3 separate regions of the Homo sapiens genome follow, and regions 2 and 3 are each linked to region 1. The links are contacts of gene promoters, found by promoter capture Hi-C in human tissues and cell types (Jung and others, 2019). All regions are on one chromosome and are shown on one strand. Each heading gives the region's core, a stretch centred on a gene start or on the middle of the fragment in contact. The rest is flanking DNA. Distances are from core to core; before and after follow the strand shown.

Region 1 (4,480 bases), core at 1,043-3,542:
TATAAAATATATACAAATATAGTGCATGGTCAGTCACTTAATACAGCTCTCTCTACAAAAAGTAACTTCTTAGAAATTAAAAAAACACAAAGTAACCACTTAATCAAAAAAGTCCTCTTCTCTCCCAGTATTCAAGTTCCTGTTTAGAGTCCGGAGGGAAGAGAGGTGGGTTGGGGAGTTTAGGAGGAGGGGTGGCCTGAGCCCCCTCAGTTCCGCCACGGCCTCCACATGGAGTCCGCCGTAAGCGAGGGGCCGCTGGAAGGTGACACTGCGTTGGGGCCCACGGAGGTGCCGCTGTTGCTGGTGTAGACGGGGATGACAGGGCCGCTGTGCGCGAAGGCCCCGTTGGGAATGAGGAAAGCAAACTGGCCATCGGGAGCCGGTACCACCTGGAAGCCTCCAAACACCTTAGCCGCCTCTCCAGCCTGGCTGCCCAGCTTGCAGGGGGCGCCGCCGGGAGGGGGCGCCGCGCCCCCGGGGATGGGCACGAGTGGCGGCGGCGGCGCGAACGGCGCGTGCTGGGGGCCGCCGGGTCCCGGTGGGGGCGGTGGCGGCGCCTGCAAGGCGGGGTGCGGCTGCCCGGGGTAGGTCATGGCATTGATCTGGGTCATGCAGTTGGCCAGGTGGCCGAGCAGCCGAGTGCGCACCTCGGTATTAACGCCCTCGCACGTGGACAGGAAGCGGGTCACCTCGTTCATGCACTCGCTGAAGCCGGCTCGGTACTTCCCCAGCACACTTGGGTCTGTGCTCAGCGCAGCTGCGGGCCAGAAAGAGACAGACGGGTCACCGAACGGCCCTGGCCCCGTGGCCACTGCCTCCGCCCTGGGAGGTCCCTGTGGCGCGCCTCCCTGACCATGCGCCCGTGAAACTGCCTCCGGCAGGGAGGGTGAGATGGGTTTAGAAAAAACCAGCCACCTCTCCACACTAGCGTTGCTGCCAAAAGCCGAGCCACTCCTTCCCGATTCCCTGTAGCTGCATTTAAACCTATCTCAGCCCCAGATCTGTCACCCCCACCCCCGCGCGCGATGTGACCTTGGACAATGCCTCCCAATCCATCATCCAAGCCTCATTTCCCCTTCTGCAACGGGAAGGAGTGCTAAACCAGTGACCCCCAGGCTCCACGCAGTTCCAAACCGCCACAGTCCTAAGTCCTTTCGCCCCTACCCGGCGCCCGCCACCCTCGCGGCTGCAACCTCTTTCCCTCCCTTTCCGGAACAGTAACAACTTGGAGTTGTGGCTATAAATAAGCCCCAGACCGTGGGAACGCAAGAGTGAGCCAAGGCAGTAAAATGTAGCTGAATGCCTCTCACAACCACGGGCGGAAGTCTGGAAGAAATCACCGCGAGGCGAGCGGGACGCCCGCACAGGGGGACGCGGCGAGCCGCCCTCACCCGTCATCTGCGCCCGCTGCAGGTTCCGGAGGTGCTTCACTGTCATTTCCAGAATGTCCGCCTTCTCCAGCTTGGAATGCCGCGAGCTCTGCATAGAGTAGGCAAGAAAGGAAAGTGAGCCCCGTGTCAGCTGCTTCAGAGTGCTGGGGGTCCCTCCTCCCGGCCACGGAGCGCAAGCATTATCTCTGGACCCCAGCGAATAAGGCCGGGCCCTCCCGCCTGGGAGAACGCAGTACCAGCGAGTGCCAGACCCCGCAGGGCGGGGGGTTTCACTCTTAGTAGCTGAGAAAGTGTTTGTTTTTTAATTAAAAGAGCGAGCAGCATTTCCCCACTTACATCTTTCTTCAGAGCATCCAAAATCAGTGTTTTCAGCTGGCTCAGACTTTCATTTATTCTTGCTCTTCGTCTTTTCTCCATAATAGGCTTTGATGACTGCAAATAAAAAAAAGAGTTCTGTGTTCCCATGGAATCTGCCATCCCGGGGTTTCAAGACAGAAAGAAGCCCCCCAACCCCTACTTAATTTTGAGGGGCTGCAAAGAGATACAGGTACCGCCCTTACCTTTCTGTGCTCAGATGCTGTCTTTGGTTTATCCGGTGTCGTGTTGACACTGGCTGGGGTAGCAGCCACCGGGGACGAGGAATTTTTCTCCATTATATCAGCTGGCATTTTCCTTTTTTTTTTTTTTTTATCTCTAGAGAATTTTATTTTTGGAGTTCTTCACGAAAAAGAATTTTTTGTTTGTGTCTCTTTTACTTGAGACTTTCACAAAACTACTGAGCAAGTGCTGAGGGTTTATTATATTTTGTGGCTACTTGGTGATCAGTAGCGCTGTTCCAGGACCAAGGAGAGAGGTAGACGGGGGATTCCGCTGTTATCAGCACCAGCTCCGGATCCTGTGTGATCCCTAGGCCCTGGCGGCCTCTATATATATCTGGGACTGCACGCGAACGGCTCGTGTGAAACTTCCCAAACTTTCTTTCCCACAGTAACTTTCAGCCAATGGGAGGAGGAGACACGCGGCACCGCTCGTGGACCGCGCCCCCCCATTGGCCGCCAGGCACAAGGTCTGGCGGCCAATGGCGCGCGCCTGAGCCCAGGGCACCGGAGGCTACAACGTCAATCAAAAGGATTTTAACCCTTTGCTACTCTCCCTCTGGGCTTTGGTTTAGAGATTTTTTTTTTCTTTCCGCTTTGGTCTTGATCTTGTCTATTTCTTTTGGAGCCAGGGTCTTTGCTCTTTATGCCCTCTCTCATATGTAACAGAGCTGCTTTGACTGTAGTAAGTTCATTTGAAACATATTTTTTTTAAAGGTATAAACAATAAAGAAAAAAACAGCAGTGGTTAAAAGGGGGCGGGGGGAGGGGGGGACGGGTGTAAGAATGTGAGTTACCGACACATCTAAAGTTCCCGCTCAGACTTTACATTCAGGAGGGTGAAAGTAGATGGTAAAGGAAAAGGGCCAAAAAAATTTTCCTGTTTCCATGCAGAAAAAGGAAAAATTGCCTTCTACCTCACAAATGCAGGTTTTTCGGAGCAAGGTAGTTCTTGAATCCCACCCCCACCCCGTCTTTCAGAAATTCCTCGTTTGGATTTGGGGCCTTAGACCCCGGGCTTCCCCAGGAAACAATCAGAATAATTTCCAACTGGGTGGAAGGAAACGGTATTTCAAATGAAAAAATGAACAAGGGGGGCTCCGAGGGCAATGACTCAGGGACTCGCGCCCTCCTTCACCACCCTTTCCCTTTTCATCCGTAGGCTTTAGGTTCTGCGGCGCGTTGAGGTGGCGGGCAAGGAAGCAGCCTCTCCCTCCTCGCCCCGCGGGCGGCCTCGGCCCCCGGCGCCCGCGGGCCCTTTAAGAGCTACACCAGCCGAGCTGCAGTTTGACATCAGCCGGCCGGCGTGGGCGCGCCTGGAGCCGGAGCACGTGCCAGGATGTTTTATTGCCGCCGCGGCTGCGGCCGGGCCGGGAGGATGTGTGTGTGCGTGCGTGTGTGAGTGAGTGTGTGTGCGCGCGCCCCGGGGGCAGGGAGGCGGGGGGCGGCGACGGGCGGCGGAGAGCGGGGGCCGGTTCCTGGTCCCCGGGAGAAGCCAAGAAGGTAAATAGCAGCTGCTGTGCTCGAGCCTGGGAAAACCCCGCCCCCTGCGCCTGGCCCGGGCTCATTGGCGCGCGCTGCGTGTGGGGGGTGTGTGTGTGTGTGTGTCCGGGGCCCCCTCCTCCGGCCCCGCCGGGCCAGGAATCCGAGGGGGCGGCGGGCTGGGAGCCGAGCCCCGGCGCTTACCCTCTCTCCCCACCCCCGCCTCCCCAGGCCAAGGTCAGCTCTTCCCGGCGGGGAGCGCACACCCGGGGTGGAGAGTGGGGAATTCTTCCAACCCCCGCCTCCCCACCCTCACTTTCGGGCTTGGGGTTTTCACTCGGCCGAAAGCCGCATTCGCAACAGCCCGGGGGCGAGGTGGGGGCCTCCAAGTTTGCTCCTCGCCCCCGCCCTCTCCCCGCGGGGCCCTGGGCGCCCGCCGCGGTCACGGGATGCCTGACCGCACTTAGGAAGCGGCCGGGTCAGCCTCCTGCCTCCGCTCGGCGACTGCGGTTAAAGCGGCTTCGCGCCGCCCGCCCCTTCCCCGGGTCCCGGGCGGCCGGGCCGCTCCCCCTCACTACGCCCGGGAGGCCGCCGGCGGGCGCCCGGGAGGAGGCGGGCGGCGCGGGCGGCTGCGTGCTGCCTGCTGGCCGGGCCGCGCGCCGGGAGGAGTCGCCGCCGCCGCCGCCGGGTGCCACGTGGCGGGCGCCGGGCCGGGAGCGCCAGGGCTCTGGCGGCGGCCTCCCTGGGGGATTTGCCGAGCCGGGCGGGCGGCGCGCACTGCCTGGGCCGGCCGGCCGCCTCCTCCGCCTCCCTCCCGCCTGCCCGGGTCGCCGGCCCCCGTGCCCCCACCCCCCCTCCGCCCTTCCCGCCGCCTGGGAGCTCGGCTCGCGGCTCCGGGCAGCCCGGGAGCCCAGCGTCTTGTTTGATGTGGCCTCCCGCCCCCTCAGCCCTTCCCGCGTCCCGGAGGCCTGGCGCACGGTTCTCAGACACTTCATTCCTTCCGGCCTCCCA
Region 2 (4,442 bases), core at 715-3,214, 260 kb before region 1:
TCCCCTTTTTTATGGTGTCTTGAAGGATAGAAGTCTTTTTTTTTTTTTTTTTTTTTTTTATTGATCATTCTTGGGTGTTTCTCGCAGAGGGGGATTTGGCAGGGTCATAGGACAACAGTGGAGGGAAGGTCAGCAGATAAACAAGTGAACAAAGGTCTCTGGTTTTCCTAGGCAGAGGACCCTGCGGCCTTCCGCAGTGTTTGTGTCCCTGGGTACTTGAGATTAGGGAGTGGTGATGACTCTTAACGAGCATGCTGCCTTCAAGCATCTGTTTAACAAAGCACATCTTGCACCGCCCTTAATCCATTTAACCCTGAGTGGACACAGCACATGTTTCAGAGAGCACAGGGTTGGGGATAAGGTCACAGATCAACAGGATCCCAAGGCAGAAGAATTTTTCTTAGTACAGAACAAAATGAAAAGTCTCCCATGTCTACTTCTATCCACACAGACCCGGCAACCATCCGATTTCTCAATTTTTTCCCCACCCTTCCCGCCTTTCTATTCCACAAAACTGCCATTGTCATCATGGCCCATCCCCAATGAGCCGCTAGGCACACCTCCCAGACGGGGTCGTGGCCGGGCAGAGGGGCTCCTCACTTCCCAGTAGGGGCGGCCGGGCAGAAGCGCCCCCCACCTCCCGGATGGGGCGGCTGGCCGGGCAGAGGGGTCCTCACTTCCCAGTAGGGGCGGCCGGGCAGAGGCGCCCCTCACCTCCCGGATGGGGCGGCCGGCCGGGCGGGGGGCTGACCCCCCCACCTCCCTCCCGGACAGGGCGGCTGGCCGGAAGTCTTAATGCAGACAGCATTATCAGTGTGTTCAAAAGACACGTAGACACGTTTTGCCTATAGACAAATGGGCAAAAGGAAACCCAGCTTTCTCAAATGAAGCACAAGTGGGCCTTAATTATGTGAAAAGGTGTTCAAGTTCATCATTAAACAGGGAAAGGAAAAGTTAAAATCATGCTGAGATATCTTTCATAGAAATGGCAAAAAGCAGGAAGTGCCACGTGTGGGCAGAGAGGAAGCACAGGAACTCTCACAAATGGCAGGTGTCATCGTAGACCAACACAACCACTTTGGAGAGCAGTTTGACTTTCCCCAGTTAAACTGAACATGTGAGCGGCCGGGCGTGGTGGCTCATGCCTGTAATCCCAGCAGTTTGGGAGGCCGAGGCGGGCGGATTGCCTGAGCTCAGGAGTTCAAGACCAGCCAGGGCAACACGGTAAAACCCCGTCTCTACTAAAATACAAAAAATTAGCTGGGCGTGATGGTGTGTGCCTGTAATCCCAGCTACTTGTGAGGCCGAGGCAGGAGAATTGCTTGAACCAGGGAGCAGGAGGTTGCAGTGAGCCGAGATCGCACCACTGCACCCCAGCCTGGGCGACAGAGTCCCCCTCCCCCACCAAAAAAACAACAAGTGAGCATCCTGCAACCTAGCAATGCCATTGTTGAACAAGTTCAAAGATGTTCTTAGCCTTATTAGTCCCAAAAGGAAGAAAAAAATGGAGGATTTGAGAATGTTCTTAGCTTTATTGCTAAGCGGAGAAAGAAAAACAACACATACCAAAAAAAAAAAAAAAAAAAAAAAAAAAAAAAAAAAAAACCTGGGTGGGAAATTAGGGCCATGTGGCATGAAAAGGAAGACCCAGGGGAAGTGTGGCCCATCTAGGGGTGTGGCTACTGCAGTGATCCAGCTGTATCACTGAACTTCCCTGGCATCATAGAGTTATATTGTGCCATTTATGGAAAAACTCTCCCCACTGCTCTTGGCTTTGACAGTAGGAATCAGGTTATATATGGTCTCTCGGTTTGAAGATATTTGTCATTAAAAACCAGAACAAGGGCTCTGAGATAGGGTCCTTTCCTGACCTACTCTGGTAAAGTCTTTATCCTCAGGATGCAAGGATACCACCCTCTTCCTGTGGAAAGTGTCGAATCACATGCAGAGCTCTAAGTCTTTCAGTTACTTTGGAGTGCAGAACCATTTCAGGTAAGGCCAAATATTTTAAACATTAGTATAGGAAATTAGAGGGCTCTTTAGTCTGTGTGTGCATGAGAAGTAAAATTGCACGAGAAGCAATTTATGTAAAATTTCGCTTAGGAAACATTGTTTTGGCAGGTTAGTAGTATGGTGTGCATTTCCCAGAAAATTCAGTGCCGTGAGTATTACCTTTAGTTAAGCATCTTAGAAATAGTAGCTCTTTATGGCTAAGTCAGAAATACTACCCTCAAATTCTATGTGACCCTAGTTATACTGTTGAGCCTTTCTGTGCCTCTGTGCCTTCATCCTTGAATCGGGGATAATATACTTACCTCCTAAGGTTATTGTAAGGATTAAATGCATGTAGTATAAATAAAGAGCTGAGAACAATGCATGGCGTAAAGTGATAGGTATTATTATATGCTTTTGTTGGCTGTTGATTGAAGGTGTTCGCTGTTTTGGGGGTGTCCTTTAATAGAGTAACTTGGTACTGTGGAAATAGCATGATTGTGAGCAAAAGAATCAGATGGTGGTGGCTGCAGACTTTGCTGTTCCCTTCTTGACTGTTGGTTATAGCCAATGCAGGGTAAGTTATAAAGTCAAGAGCAGAGCCGTTTTCACAATGGACATTGCTTTGTGATGTCTGTGAGCTTGAATGTGAGAATGATTATTTTAATTCTCTATGTAAGGACTTTAAAGTATTGGCTATTCGGTAGCTTGAAAACTCTGTAATCTCAATGCTTTAAACTGAGAGTGGAAAATCAATAAAGCAAAAGCATGAGGCCACGCAGTGTAGAATGAGTGTCTTTTCACCACGTAGGGAAATCTGTAGTCCTAAGAAAAGAGGGAGTGAGAATTCTGGCGAAAGGATTGTGCCTCTGCACAAAGTGCAGGATCCCAGGGTTCAGTACAGGCGCGAACGCTCCTGTGTGTTGACCACACTCCCACGGTTGCTTTTTCAGACATGCTGAGGGGGACTCTACTGTGCGCGGTGCTCGGGCTTCTGCGCGCCCAGCCCTTCCCCTGTCCGCCAGCTTGCAAGTGTGTCTTCCGGGACGCCGCGCAGTGCTCGGGGGGCGACGTGGCGCGCATCTCCGCGCTAGGCCTGCCCACCAACCTCACGCACATCCTGCTCTTCGGAATGGGCCGCGGCGTCCTGCAGAGCCAGAGCTTCAGCGGCATGACCGTCCTGCAGCGCCTCATGATCTCCGACAGCCACATTTCCGCCGTTGCCCCCGGCACCTTCAGTGACCTGATAAAACTGAAAACCCTGAGGCTGTCGCGCAACAAAATCACGCATCTTCCAGGTGCGCTGCTGGATAAGATGGTGCTCCTGGAGCAGTTGTTTTTGGACCACAATGCGCTAAGGGGCATTGACCAAAACATGTTTCAGAAACTGGTTAACCTGCAGGAGCTCGCTCTGAACCAGAATCAGCTCGATTTCCTTCCTGCCAGTCTCTTCACGAATCTGGAGAACCTGAAGTTGTTGGATTTATCGGGAAACAACCTGACCCACCTGCCCAAGGGGTTGCTTGGAGCACAGGCTAAGCTCGAGAGACTTCTGCTCCACTCGAACCGCCTTGTGTCTCTGGATTCGGGGCTGTTGAACAGCCTGGGCGCCCTGACGGAGCTGCAGTTCCACCGAAATCACATCCGTTCCATCGCACCCGGGGCCTTCGACCGGCTCCCAAACCTCAGTTCTTTGACGCTTTCGAGAAACCACCTTGCGTTTCTCCCCTCTGCGCTCTTTCTTCATTCGCACAATCTGACTCTGTTGACTCTGTTCGAGAACCCGCTGGCAGAGCTCCCGGGGGTGCTCTTCGGGGAGATGGGGGGCCTGCAGGAGCTGTGGCTGAACCGCACCCAGCTGCGCACCCTGCCCGCCGCCGCCTTCCGCAACCTGAGCCGCCTGCGGTACTTAGGGGTGACTCTGAGCCCGCGGCTGAGCGCGCTTCCGCAGGGCGCCTTCCAGGGCCTTGGCGAGCTCCAGGTGCTCGCCCTGCACTCCAACGGCCTGACCGCCCTCCCCGACGGCTTGCTGCGCGGCCTCGGCAAGCTGCGCCAGGTGTCCCTGCGCCGCAACAGGCTGCGCGCCCTGCCCCGTGCCCTCTTCCGCAATCTCAGCAGCCTGGAGAGCGTCCAGCTCGACCACAACCAGCTGGAGACCCTGCCTGGCGACGTGTTTGGGGCTCTGCCCCGGCTGACGGAGGTCCTGTTGGGGCACAACTCCTGGCGCTGCGACTGTGGCCTGGGGCCCTTCCTGGGGTGGCTGCGGCAGCACCTAGGCCTCGTGGGCGGGGAAGAGCCCCCACGGTGCGCAGGCCCTGGGGCGCACGCCGGCCTGCCGCTCTGGGCCCTGCCGGGGGGTGACGCGGAGTGCCCGGGCCCCCGGGGCCCGCCTCCCCGCCCCGCTGCGGACAGCTCCTCGGAAGCCCCTGTCCACCCAGCCTTGGCTCCCA
Region 3 (4,458 bases), core at 410-2,909, 280 kb before region 1:
ACGCCTGGCTCTAATTTTTTCTATTCTTAGTAGAGATGGGTTTTCACCATGTTGGCCAGGCTTGTCTTGAACTCTTGACCTCGGGTGAGCTCCCTGCCTTGGTGAGCCACTGTGCCCAGCTAAGCTTTTCTTCTTAACTTTTAAGTTTAGTTTGTCAAATACCAGGAAAAGCCCTTTCGGAACTATTAGAATTACACAGAGTTGATCAATAAATTTTGAGGGTGAATTCATTAGTTTTCCTTCCCACAAACAGTATCTCGTTCTGTTTCTGTCTTTTTGACCTAATGTCTTTCAGTAAGTCAGATAGTTTTCTCCCTAATGGTTTTTGTACATTTTTTGTTAGATTCTTAGAGTAATAACAGTTTTTGATCCCTTGATAAATTATAATTAAAATGACATTTTCTAATTTTTTATGTTGTTGAACTCAATACAGTTGTTTTAGATATTCATCTTGTTCCCAGAAGCCTTATCAGACTTTATTCAGACACATTTTAGATTGTCTAGGATTTTCTGTTTAGACAGGCATCATATATAAGTAATTACAAGCTGTAATTACTTACTTGACTCCCCAGCAGTTTGTTTCTGACATTTCACAGTCTTTATGTGCTTTTTCTGTATTTTTCATGTCTTAATATATTAGTTATAGTGATAGTGATATCCTTGTCTTACTCTTGTCTCTAAAGGACGTGTTCCTAATAGTTCACCATTAGATAAACTGTTTGCTGTATATTTCTAGTGTATAGTCTTTATCAGGTTAAGGAAGCTTCCTTAGTTGTACAGTGTTGTTAACATAAGTGGTTTTAAATTTTTATCTAATGCTTTTTTTTTTGAGATGGAGTCTCGCTCTGTCGCCCAGGCTGGAGTGCAGTGGCATGATCTCGGCTCACTGCAACCTCCACCTCCCGGGTTCAAGCAATTCTCCTGCCTCAGCCTCCCAAGTAGCTGGGATTACAGGCGTGTGCCACCATGCCTGGCTAAGTTTTTGTGTTCTTAGTAGAGATGGGATTTCACCATCTGGCCAGACTGGTATCGAACTCCTGACCTCACGATCCACCCACCGTGGCCTCCCAAAGTGCTGGGATTGCAGGTGTGAGCCACTGTGCCCAGCCAATCTAATGCTTTTTCTGCAGCTATTGAAATGGTCACACAGTTTTTCTCCCTGAAGAATGTGATGAATTATAGCTGATCAGTATTCAAATATTGAACTAACTTTGCATTTCTAGAATAAATTCAGTTTGGTCATGATGCACACTCTTTGAAATTTGGATTTAGGTTGCTATGATTTTGTTTTGGATTTTTGCCTCTGCATGAATGAGATCAGATTTAATTTTCTTTTCTTGTATGTTACGGACAGGTTTGATCTTAAAGTTATATAACTTAAACTTACAAAGTTTGTGAAATGAGTATTCCATTGCAGGGACTTTTTAGTAATTTGTTTAGTCCTGTTTTGCTGGATATTTAGGTTGGTTCCAGTGTTTTGCTATTAGAAACAATGTGGTATTGTAAGGAGAATGGTGTGAACCCGGGAGGCGGAGCTTGCAGTGAGCCAAGATCACACCACTGCACTCCAGGCTGGGCGACAGGGCGAGACTCCGTCTCAAAAAAAAAAAAAAAAAAAAAAAAAAGAATGTGGTATTGTAAATCCTTGCACACTTCAGTTACAGACAAATATATATTTATAGGCTAAATATGCAAAAGTGGAATTGCTTGGTCTGAGGGTATCTATAAATTTAATTTTCATAAATTCTGCATTATTGAACTTTGAAGATGTTCCAGGTTGTAGTCTTACCAGCAGTATATGTCTGTTTCCCTGCATATTTCATTGAGGGGTTTAGATAAGCACTTACAGTAAAAGAAGAAAACAAAATGCATTATATTTCTCTCCTGGTGCACATGTCTTCTGTTTCACAACCAACTTTTTCTTGAAATAGTACCACATTCAGCTCACCTCCCACACGTTCGTCAACTAATCTGGCATCTTCCCCTGCCAATCTACTGAAACGGCCCTCAGCAAGGCCGTTAGCCTCTTACTTGTTAAGTCCAATGGACTTTTCTCCCTAATGTATTTTTTTCCAGTCTTACTTGACTCCCCAGCAGTATTTGACGAGTTAGCCATGTCATCATTCTTAAGATACTCTCTTCTGAAATTTTGTGATGCTTTGCTGTCTTTTGGCCTTTTCTTAGCTCTGACTCTCCAGTCTCATTTTCCACTTTGGCTCCACTCCCTCTGCCCATTCCTTAAATGTTAGGGTTCCTTACATTTCTGTTCTTATTCCTCTGGTCACTCAATACATTCTGGTGATATCCCCTAGAGTCATGGCTTCACCTGTAATCACCATCTATATGTTAAAGGCTCCCAACCTTTATACCCTGAGCCTACCTCACTACTAAGCTTTAGACCTGCAAATACACTGATATATTGACTGTTACTTGGGTGTTCCACCCAACAGATCCCTCAATTTAAACATTTTAAGAACTAAGCTCATCATGTTCTCCTTCAACCCTTTTTCTTCTCTGTTTCTTGGTACCACTATTTATTCAAGTCAGAAGTGTGCATGCTTGTGTACATGCGTGTGTGTCTATTTATCTGTGCCTTTTCTTCCTCTTTCCGTAGCCAGCCATTTGTTAGATTCTTTCAGTTTTCTTATTATAAACCTTTCTGTCTTTACAACTATCCCATTTTTTAGGCCTTAGAAATTAATCAGATTTTAAAGTGAACACTTAGATTGTTTTTTCTTAACTTCATCTTTTTTTATGAAGTTGTCTTTATAATTGAGTTTTGACCAGTACTTCGTTATTAGATTGGTACCTCTTTTTTTTTTTTTTTAAGGCAGGTTCTTCTGTCACCCACGCTGGAGTACAGTGGCAGGATCTCGGCTCACTGCAGCCTCCACTTCCCAGGCTCAAGTGATTCTCGTGGCTCAGCCTTTTGAGTAGCTGGGATTATAGGCATGCACCACCTCGCCTGGCTAATTTTTGTATTTTTAGTAGAGACGAGATTTTGCCATGTTGCCCAGGCTAGGCTCAAACTCCTAGCCTCAAGTGATCTGCCCACCTCTGCCTCCCAAGATGTTGGGATCACAGGCATGAGCCACTGTGCCTGGCTGGTACCTCATTCTTTAAAGATGGGTTTTTATTTTGAAAATAGAAACTGTTAGACATTCATGATCTAGTAGAGCATGGGCTTTTGAATCTGAGTGAACAGGATTTGACTCTAACCTCAGTCACTTAATATTTTCTTTAACCTTGAGTTACTTAAACTTTGAGTTTTATCATCTGAAAGGGAATATAATATATACCGCGGGGCATTGTTGAGGATTAAGTAGATAATGTATATGAAGGTGTTTGGTACATCATAGGAATTCAATAAATTTAGAAATTATGATACAGTGCTATAATATTGACTACATACAACAATTTTAACTTTAAAATGTTTTTGCATTACAGATAGTGTGTGTACCATATCAGTGGCGTGTAACTATGCTCATCATTGTTCTTGTCAATGCCTTTGTGTCTATCACAGTGGAGGTAAGCACTTCCATAGTCAAATGGCTACCATGTTGCTTTGGAATTCTTGGGTGATTTAATGGTAAATGGGAGAAGAGGGCAGGTAATATAATGGAAAGCCACAGAGTCTCAGTTTCATCTCAGGCAAATTCATTTAGCCTTCTCTTGTGAACTTTTCCATGAATTGATAGTGGTCATATTAAGGGAGGTGACTTAGTTGCACTCACACAGATAGGAGAAAATAAGCAATGTGATAATAAAAATTAATGACGAGTAGAAAGGAGAGAAGTTTGGGGCCTCGGTGGCCCATGAAACTGATGAACCAGTGATTGTGAAATCAGAGTTGGCATGTGCCACCTGTGTTTTGTGATGTACAGTAAAATCTCCCATTTAAGGGAGGGGGGAAGGGGGAGGGCCATTCTCCAGGAAACACAGTGAATATTAATAGCAAGAGAGTTTAATGAAAGTATAAAATAATAATCGTTATGGACTTACCTAATTTCAGCATTGATTACTGGAACATCCTCCTTGGTATTTGCTTTTGAGTGACCTCTAGAGGTCTTAAGTACCCTTTGATTCACTGTATATTGTGTAGTTACCCTCCCGTTAGGATTGCCTTTAGGTTAGCGTCTCTAAAAGGAGGTAGCAAGTTCTCATTGGTGGCTTATTAATAAGCTTTTGTCTGCTCTCTGAACTACTATCATAATTGACTCTTACAGTAACTATAAAAATGGAAGAGAGAGATACAGTTGTGATTTTTAAGTTAAGAGTTTCATAGCACAGGCTTTTGGATCAAAATAAAGGTAATTTTTTTGAGAAATATATATGCATATATTTTAGTGATAATAGCTCTGGTCTTAGAAATTACACTTAATTTCAATTACCCCCTAAAAGATGACTTGGTATTTAAATTTGGGATATGATGGGCAGCATGGATATTATGGTACTGAC

The links. The method cuts DNA at HindIII sites, captures the fragments that hold promoters and counts their contacts. A contact is called where the count stands out against the background at its distance.
Region 2: the fragment with the promoter of GP5 here is called in contact with the fragment with the promoter of HES1 in region 1 in 3 of the 25 tissues and cell types used here (bladder, liver and ovary).
Region 3: a fragment that was not itself captured here is called in contact with the fragment with the promoter of HES1 in region 1 in 1 of the 25 tissues and cell types used here (mesenchymal stem cells).

What each region holds. Positions count from the first base shown.
Region 1 is chr3:194,133,960-194,138,439 of GRCh38, reverse strand. It overlaps HES1 (hes family bHLH transcription factor 1), which reads right to left and starts at 2,292. Exons shown (of 4, transcript NM_005524.4): 1 at 1,952-2,292; 2 at 1,728-1,823; 3 at 1,392-1,479; 4 at 1-757. The coding sequence starts at 2,059. The coding sequence ends at 207. RefSeq lists enhancers at 179-368, 2,166-2,325, 1,135-2,334 and silencers at 399-598, 3,325-3,864, 3,935-4,214. The HindIII fragment of the contact is 11,881 bases long and covers 1-4,480 here.
Region 2 is chr3:194,396,788-194,401,229 of GRCh38, reverse strand. It overlaps GP5 (glycoprotein V platelet), which reads left to right and starts at 1,964. Exons shown (of 2, transcript NM_004488.2): 1 at 1,964-1,992; 2 at 2,946-4,442. The coding sequence starts at 2,948. RefSeq lists enhancers at 28-580, 581-1,134 and a silencer at 4,014-4,063. The HindIII fragment of the contact is 10,737 bases long and covers 1-4,442 here.
Region 3 is chr3:194,412,829-194,417,286 of GRCh38, reverse strand. It overlaps ATP13A3 (ATPase 13A3), which reads left to right. Exons shown (of 34, transcript NM_001367549.1): 32 at 3,448-3,528. Among named protein-coding and RNA genes, the nearest start is that of GP5, 16 kb to the right of the region's middle. The HindIII fragment of the contact is 3,257 bases long and covers 31-3,287 here.